Linked DNA regions of Homo sapiens: region 2 is linked to region 1. The links are contacts of gene promoters, found by promoter capture Hi-C in human tissues and cell types (Jung and others, 2019). All regions are on one chromosome and are shown on one strand. Each heading gives the region's core, a stretch centred on a gene start or on the middle of the fragment in contact. The rest is flanking DNA. Distances are from core to core; before and after follow the strand shown.

Region 1 (4,565 bases), core at 62-2,561:
TCCCCAGCTCCCCGGCCCCGGGATCGTTCCCCGTGGCAGGCCCTCGCCCCGCGGGTGAACCCCCTCCTTCTCCCCGCCGTCCCCACACCCCCACGGCTTTGCTGAACGCCCCGGAAAGGCAGCGTCGCAGTACCTCTCCCACCGCGGGGACTCCACGCCGCACATGGCTCCATCCCGGGTGGGAGGCTGAGGGAGTAAGGGGGGAGAGCGCGGGTGAAAAAGACGCCGGGCTCCTCCCGGGAAGAGGGCGACAGCACCACGCCTTGCGCGTAGCCCGGCGATCGGGCCCCCTGCGTGGTGAGGGAGAACCCCAGAGCCGCTCGCACCTACCTCCCTCCGGTCGGCGGCTGCCCCCACCCGGGAGAACCGAAGCCTCTACCGTGGCGTCGCCAACCTAGCCTTCTCGATCGAGGAGGGCGGGAGGAGTGGGTGGGAAAAGCAACTCGCCCCCCGCAAAATTCCCAGCGCGCCCCCATCTCTCCATCCATTTATCTATCCACCCATCCACCCATCCATCCATCCATCCATCCATCCATCCATCCATCCATCACCAGGTCGTCCCCTCCTCCTCTTCCTCTCCCCTTCCTTCCTCGCTGCCTCGCCGCCTCCCCGCCGCCCTTACCTGTAGCCATCTGATTGTAATGGACTACCGAGTCGCTGCTGCCGGAGAAGAGGTTGAGCGCGCTGGGGATCTCCTCGGGGTACAGATTGTCAGGCAGTTGGTTTAGCAAACTGCTCATGGTCACCGGCAGCTTCTCGGCGAGTTTGCCGGTCATAGCACTCCCGAGCTGCCGCCGCCGCCGCCACCGCCGCCACCGCCGCCGCTCGCTCCTAACGCAGCTTCCAGGCAAGCGGCATCCGAGAGGCGATCCGTGGTGCAGGGGAAAAGCATGCGAGAGGGAAAGTTCGGGGGGAGGGGGGAGGGAAGAAGGGAAGGGATGGGCCAGGAGAGGGGATCTTCTCTTTTTTGGGGGGCGGGAGAGGGCCCCAGGGGGTAATCCTCTTGGGTGCCTCAGCTGGTGCGGTATGAGGCTGGGTCGTGGGGGGGGTGGGGCGTGTGCGGGGGGTGGGGTGGGGGCTGGGCTGGGGGGGGATCTCGGCTCAAGGGGGTCGGACGCGGCCTCAGTATTGATCTCACAAACAGACACGCGCCCGCCGCCCCCCCGCCCCCCGATCTGCCACCGCCACCGCCACCGCCACCGCCGCCGCCGCCGCCGCCGCCGCCGCCGCCTCTGCCGCCGCTGCCGCCGCTGCTACCACCACCACCAGCCCCGCCGCTTCCTAGCAAGCTCACTGCTGCCCAAAAGCTCCCAGCCAGGGAACTCCACCAGCCTATTTATCTGAGCCCCGGGAAAGCTCCGTGACGTAGCTGCCCATATATGGACAGACAAAGCCCAGCCGAAGGGGCGCGACGTCACAATGGAAGCTCCTCACAATGGAACATTAGAAAGCAGGAAGCGGGCCGCAGCCAACGTGCGGCGCCCGCACCGCTCGCGGCTCTTGAAAAAAAGAGAAGGGGAGAAGAAACAAGAAGAATGCGAGAAGAGAGAGGAAAGAAGGATACAGCTGCATGCAAAGCGCAAAGCGCGTAGCGTGGAGTCGAAACACCAGTAACTCATTGTGTGTGTTTATTTGAGGTTTGCGTTAGGAGAGCGCATTGGGGAGAGGTGGGCGGTGGGGTGGGGTTGTTTGCAAGTGGTCTCCAACACCCCAGCAGTTAGAAAGAGAGTTGAAAACATCTGGCGAAATCCCTTTGCAGCCCGGGAACTGCTGGGGAACCCGGAAGGCGTGCGTTGCGCCCCTGCTACCTCAGCGGCTCCAGCGTTCGGGATCCTATCCGAGATTAAGAGAAAGGGAGTGCTTCCCTTTGTGGGGGGAAGGAGGGGTGCGCGCAGGGTTGGGGGGGTGTTTCAACTTGTCAGAATTCCTTGGTCCAATATCCCAAGAACTTTTGTGCCAACTTCACTCTGATTCGCCGCCCCTGCCCCTCCCTGGGCCCCTGACCCGGCGCTGACTCTAGGCTGAGCGCAGTGGCGAGGAGATTCGGAGCACCCCAGCAGTTGCGCCAAAGACAAGAGCCCCATCCATATGGGGTCGAGGATGTGCGGTTTTCGTGGTGAAGAGGAAAGAATGAAGTTGAAGGGATAGATAAACACGTGCACTGAATCCCCAGTAAATTCCCTAACGGTTCCAAGCAGCCTCTGTGGCCACAGGATGGCAGGAGGGCCCAGCAGGCCCGGGCGCAGTCGCTGTCTACTGCTGCCTGCGAAGGGCCCGCCAGAGTTCCAGAAGGAGGACGCCGAACCCACAGTCTCTGAGCCACTGGGGGCCTCCCCTAGTCTCTGCCCTCCCCCTCGCCTTCCACAGGGCTGTCCCCATTGCTGCCTGCCGGCGCTCCGCAGTCAAGGGCGGCCTGTGTGCCGACCCGGAGCGCTTTCACCTCCCGGAGCGGCAGCAGATCCCGGGGGCGGCTGCTGTGCTCCCTGGGGCCTGCTCCCGAGGCGCGCGCAGCCGGCCCGCGGGCGAGGGGGAGGAGAGGGCGGGAGCATGGGGGTGCGACCCCAAATCACATCGGCTTGGCGGGGGAGGATTCCCTCCTCGGTGGCCGCGTGGGCGCGGTGAATCCCTCGTCCCCTCCTGGGGAGTCGGGGTTGGGGGAACGTGCATTTCTCGGGGGGAGTGGGAGTGTTGACAAGGAAGAAGAGAGGATCCCCGGGCCTCACGCCGTGGGAGGGCCACGCGGGCCGGGGACGTGTGGGAGGAACTCCCGAGCTGCACGTTGTGGTGGAGGTGGATGACAACCTCGCTCCCCTCCCCTCCCCTCCACTCAGTGGAGGGCTGGGGACCGGAGGGCCCGGCCTCCCCCCATCTTCTCCAGTTCTTAGGAAAGGAGGGATTCCCGCCTCCCGCGAGCCCCCTCTCTCCACCCCCGCCGCCTCTCCCGCCAGGCTCCCCACTCCTATACTAGGGAGCCACAGCGCCCCCCGGGCTGTCCTCCGCCAGCGCGGCTCAGGGAGGGAGAGCGCTGCAGCGGTCCCGCGCTCCGGTCAGAATCAGGGCAGGCTGCGCCTCCCGCCCCCGGCTCCCTCCCTTAGGGGGGGCGCGCGGCCGGTCGGGGGGCGTGGGCGGCGGTGTGAGCCGGGCTAGGTGCGGGAGGGGCCCGGGCGGCTGCGGGGAGGGTCGCAGGGCGGCGGGCCAAGCCGGGAAGAGCCATACAAGGAGCGGATCCGGTGACGCGCCGGCCGCGCCCCTTCTCCTTCTCGATTTGGCTGCAGATTCCGGTCCCAAGATTTGCATATTTTGGCATCCAGTGGAAAAGGAAAGAAGAACGGAACCCGCAGCCTTTAAAGGAACCGCACAGGCTGTAGCGTCACCCAGGGAGGCGGTGGGGGTGGGGGTGGGGGCCTGAAAAATTAGCCAGCGGCTCTGGCCTCTGGCCGTAGAGCCCGGCAGCAGGGAGGGCCAGGGAGGGGCGGCAACCAGCGAGCTTCGGGCGCGCCAGTCCCAGACCTGGCCCCTCCAGAGTGCTTCCTGCTGCGCGTGCACCCGGAGGCTGCGGAGGGTCTCCACGGGTTCCTGCCTGGGGCCGGGAGACGCTGTGGGGTCCGCGGTCCTGGGCGAGCTGCAGGCCCGAAGGCTGCAGTGCCCATGTCTCCCCGCGCGAGGCAGAGCTCAGCCTGCGGGGGTGGTGGGAAGGAAGTGAGAGGCCTCCGGGCCGCCCAGCTCAACTCCGGAGGACCCCACCGTGATGCACCCACTTTCCACCTGTCAGGATCTCTCCCCAGGAGGGGCTGCAGAGTGAGGAGCTAGAAGCCCTTATCCTGTTCGACTGGGGCCTGAGTTGGGAAAGGCAGAGGCAGTGGAAGCATTTGGGATCCTTAAGCTTCCAGGGCCCCAGAGGCTGTGGAGTGCAGCCACTCCCAACTGGAGGAGACGGCCTCTCTCCCAACACTTTTCGGCACGCTGGACTTGTTGCTTCCAAGTAGAAGAGCATGGGGCAAGGTTTGCTGACCTGCACCAGGGCTTGCTTACCCGTCAGCAAGATTGGATAGGAGTCTGGGGACACGATTCCTTCCCTCTCCTTTCTACTAGTTCTTTGCATAAAACGGGAGCCTTCAATTCAATTAAAGTCTTCATTAAAGCTTCACTGTGACCTTGGGCAAACGTCTGTTTTTTTTTTCTTAGCCTCAGTTTCCTTGTCTGTAAATTGGGATAATAGTATCTACCCCTTAGGAATAATTAAATTAGATAATCCTCATAGAGTACTTGCCAGTCCCTTAAGCAAGCACCCGATAAACTGCAATTGTTGTTAAACTATTCTTCCCCACCCAGCCTTGTGACAGATATGCCCTTCCCTCTCGTGTGTGGCAGGAGTAAATTTAGATGATATAGGTAGTAAAAAAGGCCAGGTATGGAACTCCATCACAGACCAGCGTGATCATATGCAAGAAGTATTAATAATGTTGATTATTTAGGGGGGGAAACGAAATCTGTGTGCCTAGTATCTCCTGGGCACTGTCCCAATCCAGGGATGGTTAAGGAATGGTCCCCGGTCTGAAGGAGCC
Region 2 (4,530 bases), core at 1,829-4,328, 560 kb after region 1:
TATCCAGTTACCAGTGTTATCTTCTGAATTTTGTTTGTCTCCACCACTCCTCTTTCTATGTTTATTATTCAAATAGCCTGTTGTTCAGACCCACATAATCTCTTGTGTAAATGGTCTCCTTGCCTCTAATCTTAACTCTACAATCCATCGTCTCCCAATTGGCAGTTAGCTTTCTGTTAATCTAGCCATGTCAGTTTCCTTCAGTGACCACCCACCATCTACAGAATAAAGGATCATCATAAGATATTACACTTTCTATAATATAGGATATTACACTTTCTATAATATAGGAGTGCTTCTCCTCTCTCTCCTTTCCCCTCTACATTTGTACACGTGCCGCATTGACCCACCCTTCTATGCTCATGTTCCTCTCTCTTCCCGAGATACCCGTTTCACCTCTTCACCTAGGAACTTGCTCACTCTTCAGAATTCTGCTCAACTTTTTTTTTTTTTCAAGAAATCCTGAATCCCCAGGCAGTCCTTCCCTATATTTTCATAGCATCCCATGGACACCTCAGTCTTTCTTGTTTCTGGTAGTAATTTCCATGTATGAGCGAAATGGTGACATTATTTCTTGGAACTTATATTTCTTACTCTTGTCACTAATCTTATCCCATCTGTTTATTATGTACTTTTCTTTGTTTTTTGTTTTGTTTTGTTCTGTTTGAGACAGAGTTTTGCTCTTGTCGCCCAGGCTGGAGTGCAGTGGCGCGATCTCGGCTCACTGCAACCTCCGCCTCCCAGGTTCAAGTGATTCTCCTGCCTCAACCTCCCAAGTAGCTGGGATTACAGGTGCCCGCCATCACATCCAGCTATTTTTTTTTTTTGTATTTTTAGTAAAGACAGGGTTTTGCCATGTTGGCCAGGCTGGTCTCGAACTCCTGACCTCAGGTGATCCTGACCTCAGGTGATCAGCCTCCCAGAGTGCTGGGATTACAGGCATGAGCTGCCACGCCTGGCCCTTTTCCCTTAAGGCTTTTTACAGAGTCAATAATGTTTGTGTTTGCAGTATAGCCAATTGGCAGGAAAATGGAGAGACTACAATTGGAAGGGAATTAGATGTCATTTCATCCACCCTCTTCAGAGAGTGATACTGAGGACTAGTGAGGCTGTGACTGGCCCAAGGTCACCCAGGCTAGGCTGGAAATCAGGCCTCAGCTCTCGTTCACAGCTGTTCTACCTCACCTCACCTCCTCAGTCTTCCCTTGGGAAACCACAGGCCAGTGAGAGGCAGGAGTGTAAAATCCCCGATGGGCGTGCAGCGCAGAGCTGGCTCCCAGCATCTCATGTGCCTCATTTCATGTGGAGTCACCAAACTTTCCTCCAAGGCTTAAAAACACAGATCCTTCCTCCTTTTTGAAAAGCCGCTACTTTGGGGAGGATGGGGTTGGGATTCCCGGGTGCTTGCCTTGTGTGATCATGGTTTTGAAACTCAGGGTCAGGGTCCCTGCATCCCATGGCAGTGGCCAGGGCCTGTCAGCCAATGTTGCCTTTCCCACAGGAAAAGGCTGAGGAGGTGTATCGTCTGTATCAGAACTCGCCCCTCTCCTCCCACCCCGTGGTGGCCCTGTCAGAGCTCAGCACCCTCTGTGCTAACTCCTGCCCAGATGAGAGGACCTTCTACTTGGTGTTGCTGCAGCTGCAGAAGGAGAAGAGGGTCACAGTCCTCGAGCAGAACGGGGAGAAGGTATGGAGGCTCATCTGTTCATTCACTGACTCAGCAGTGATTGATTAAGTACATAGAGTAGTGAGCCCTTATCTCAGATTTTGGTTTCCAGAGTTTCAGTAACCTGCCGTCAACCACGGTCCAAAAATAATAAGTGGAAAATTCCAAACATTAACAGTTCCATAGATTTCAGTTGTGCACTGTTCTGAGTAGTGTGATGGGACCTCGTAGTATCCCGCCTGTATGCGCATCCCTGCTTTGTCCAGCATCTCCCCGCCTGAGTCACTTAGGAGTCGTCTCAGTGATCAGATTGACTGTCACAGCATTGCAGTGGTTGTGTTCAAGCCACCCTTATTGTACTTTTTTTTTTTTTTTTTGAGATGGAGTCTTGCTCTGTCGCCCAGCAATGGCGCAATCTGAGCTCACTGCAGCCTCCGCCTCCCGGGTTCAAGCGATTCTTCTGCCTCAGCCTCCCAAGTAGCTGGAATTACAGGCATGCGCCACGGCCCCTGGCTAATTTTTGTATTTTTAGTAGAGAAGGGGTTTCACCAGTTAGCCAGGCTGTCTTGAACTCCTGACCTCAAGTGATCTGCCTGCCTCGGCCTCCCAAAGTGCTAGGATTACAGGTGTAAACCACCGTGCCTGGCCTATTATACTTAATAATGGCCCCAAAGCACAAGAGCAGTGGTGCTGGCAGTCCAGATTTACCAAAGAGAAGCGGTCAAGTGCTTCCTTTAAGTGAAAAGGTAAAAGTTCTGGACCAAATAAGGAAGACCAAATATCATTTGCTGAGTTTGCTAGGATCTACAGTAAGAATGAATCTTCTATAGGAAAAATTGTGAAGAAGGAAAAATGTTTACATAGCTATATGTATAGGGTTCAGTATTCTCTGAGGGTTCAGACCTCCACAGGGGATTCCATTCACTGGAACATATCCCCCATGGATAAGGGGGGCCTGCTGTTCTCACATGCCCACCACCAGCGCTCCTGGTTGGGAATTTCTCAGCCTTTGTGGTAGCAGCAGTAGTAATTTCTCCCTGTCCCTCAGATTGTGAAGTTTGCCCGAGGGCCACGTGCCAAGGTCTCTCCAGTCAATGACGTAGATGTTGGGGTGTACCAGCTGATGCAGAGTGAACAGCTTCTCTCACGCAAAGTGGAGTCCTTATCCCAGGAAGCAGAGAGGTAACTTTTAACCCTGAACTGAGCCTCCTCCCCACTGTTGCTGGCCCCCAGAGCCAGCAAAATGTTAGTATATGTGGGCTTTTAAAAAATAGGTGGGTTTTTTTTTTTTTTAGCTAATTACAAAAGTACTCACTGCTCAATGCAGAAATCATGGAAAGCACAGAATATCACAAAAGAGAAAAAAAAATGAGGCCTCTTTTTTTTTTTTTTTTTTTTTGAGACGGAGTCTCGCTCTGTCACCCGGGCTGGAGTGCAGTGGTGCGATCTCGGCTCACTGCAAGCTCCGCCTCCTGGGTTCACGCCATTTTCCTGCGCCAGCCTCCCGAGTAGCTGGTACTACAGCCACCCGCCACCACGCCTGGCGAATTTTTTATATTTCTAGTAGAGATGGGGTTTCACTGTGTTAGCCAGGATGGTCTGAATCTCCTGACCTCGTGATCCGCCCGCCTCTGCCTCCCAAAGTGCTGGGATTACAGGCGTGAGCCACCGTGCCCGGCCTTTTTTTTTTTTTTTTTCCTCAATTGAGACAGGGTCTTGCACTGTCCCCTAGGCTGGAGAGCAGTGACATGATCTTAGCTCACTGCAGTCTAACTCCTGAGCTCAAGCAATCTTCCCGCCTTAGCCTCCTGAGTAGCTGGGACCACAAGTGTGCACCACCATGCCTGGCTAATTTTTAATTTTTTGTTGAGATGGGGTCTCACCATGTTGCCCAGGCTGGTCTCACACTCCTCGGCGCAAACAAGACCCCCACCTCAGCCTCCCAAAGTGCTGGGATTACTGGGGTGAGCCACTGTGCCCAGCTGAAAACGTGAGTCTTAATGCTTCCCCCACAGACCATGACTGTGAATGTTATGTTTATGCTCTTCCTTGCCAGTGTCCATTCAACTAATATTTATTGAGCCAGGCATTGTCTTAGGGACTGGGGATACAGCCGTGGACAAGACAGGTCCCTGCCTTTGCAGAGGTCTTTCTGAGGGGCTCTTCCCCTGCCCTTCCCCCTGAATGACTGTACAAGGAATCCCTAATAAAGACACACCCTCTGGCAGGAGAACACAGACATTGAAGTCTGTCTTCCAGGTGGGAAAGTCTAGCCTTGTTGGGAGGCAGAGGATATGTCCGAGGTCATTGTTGGTGTTAACAGTTCCTTCCCTGTCTCCCCAAAACAGGAAGATGTGTATAATGTGCCCTGTTTGCATGTTCTGTCCCTGTGGGTTGAAAAAGCTTATCCTTAGTCAGCCTGCTTGAGCCTGCCACAACAGACTGTCAACAGACTTGCCACAAGAGTTTTTGCCGTCAGCATCAGTTTTCTTGCCACTGGGTATTGGGTTTAGTCTTCAGATTTAAAACCACCTTAACTGAGTGCTGCTCTCAGGGACCCTTTGGGACCCTGCCACTCCCATCCTGTGGCACAGTAATCTTATCTGTCCCTTTGTTTCCAGGTGTAAAGAAGAAGCCCGCCGGGCATGCCGAGCAGGAAAGAAGCAGCTGGTGAGTTCTTGTCTCCTCCAGACCCATAGCAGTGCCCCAGGCAGGCCTGGAGCAATGCCCAGCAGTTCAGAGAGCAGCTTGCTGGGGTTTTGAGGGGGGTAGAGTCTGCAGGGGGCCCAGGCACCACAGCTTATTTTACAGATGGGAGGGAAGAAAGCTGGGACATCCTTAGCGTCTGGGAAGGGCTGTCTTCC

The links. Contacts are between HindIII fragments. The study calls those that stand out against the background at their distance.
Region 2: a fragment that was not itself captured here is called in contact with the fragment with the promoter of EGR3 in region 1 in 1 of the 25 tissues and cell types used here (spleen).

What each region holds. Positions count from the first base shown.
Region 1 is chr8:22,692,169-22,696,733 of GRCh38, forward strand. It overlaps EGR3 (early growth response 3), which reads right to left and starts at 1,312. Exons shown (of 2, transcript NM_004430.3): 1 at 623-1,312. The coding sequence starts at 776. It overlaps LOC105379321 (a long non-coding RNA gene), which reads left to right and starts at 2,689. Exons shown (of 3, transcript XR_001745832.2): 1 at 2,689-3,046; 2 at 3,276-3,364; 3 at 3,773-4,164. It overlaps LOC107986926 (a long non-coding RNA gene), which reads right to left. Exons shown (of 2, transcript XR_001745831.3): 2 at 4,439-4,565. RefSeq lists silencers at 342-411, 1,274-1,393, 1,338-1,501, 2,384-2,603, 2,734-3,313 and 1 more and enhancers at 1,546-2,191, 2,024-2,133, 2,174-2,273. The HindIII fragment of the contact is 10,174 bases long and covers 1-4,565 here.
Region 2 is chr8:23,253,746-23,258,275 of GRCh38, forward strand. It overlaps CHMP7 (charged multivesicular body protein 7), which reads left to right. Exons shown (of 11, transcript NM_152272.5): 4 at 1,502-1,687; 5 at 2,715-2,848; 6 at 4,288-4,336. Among named protein-coding and RNA genes, the nearest start is that of CHMP7, 12 kb to the left of the region's middle. The HindIII fragment of the contact is 3,113 bases long and covers 1,523-4,530 here.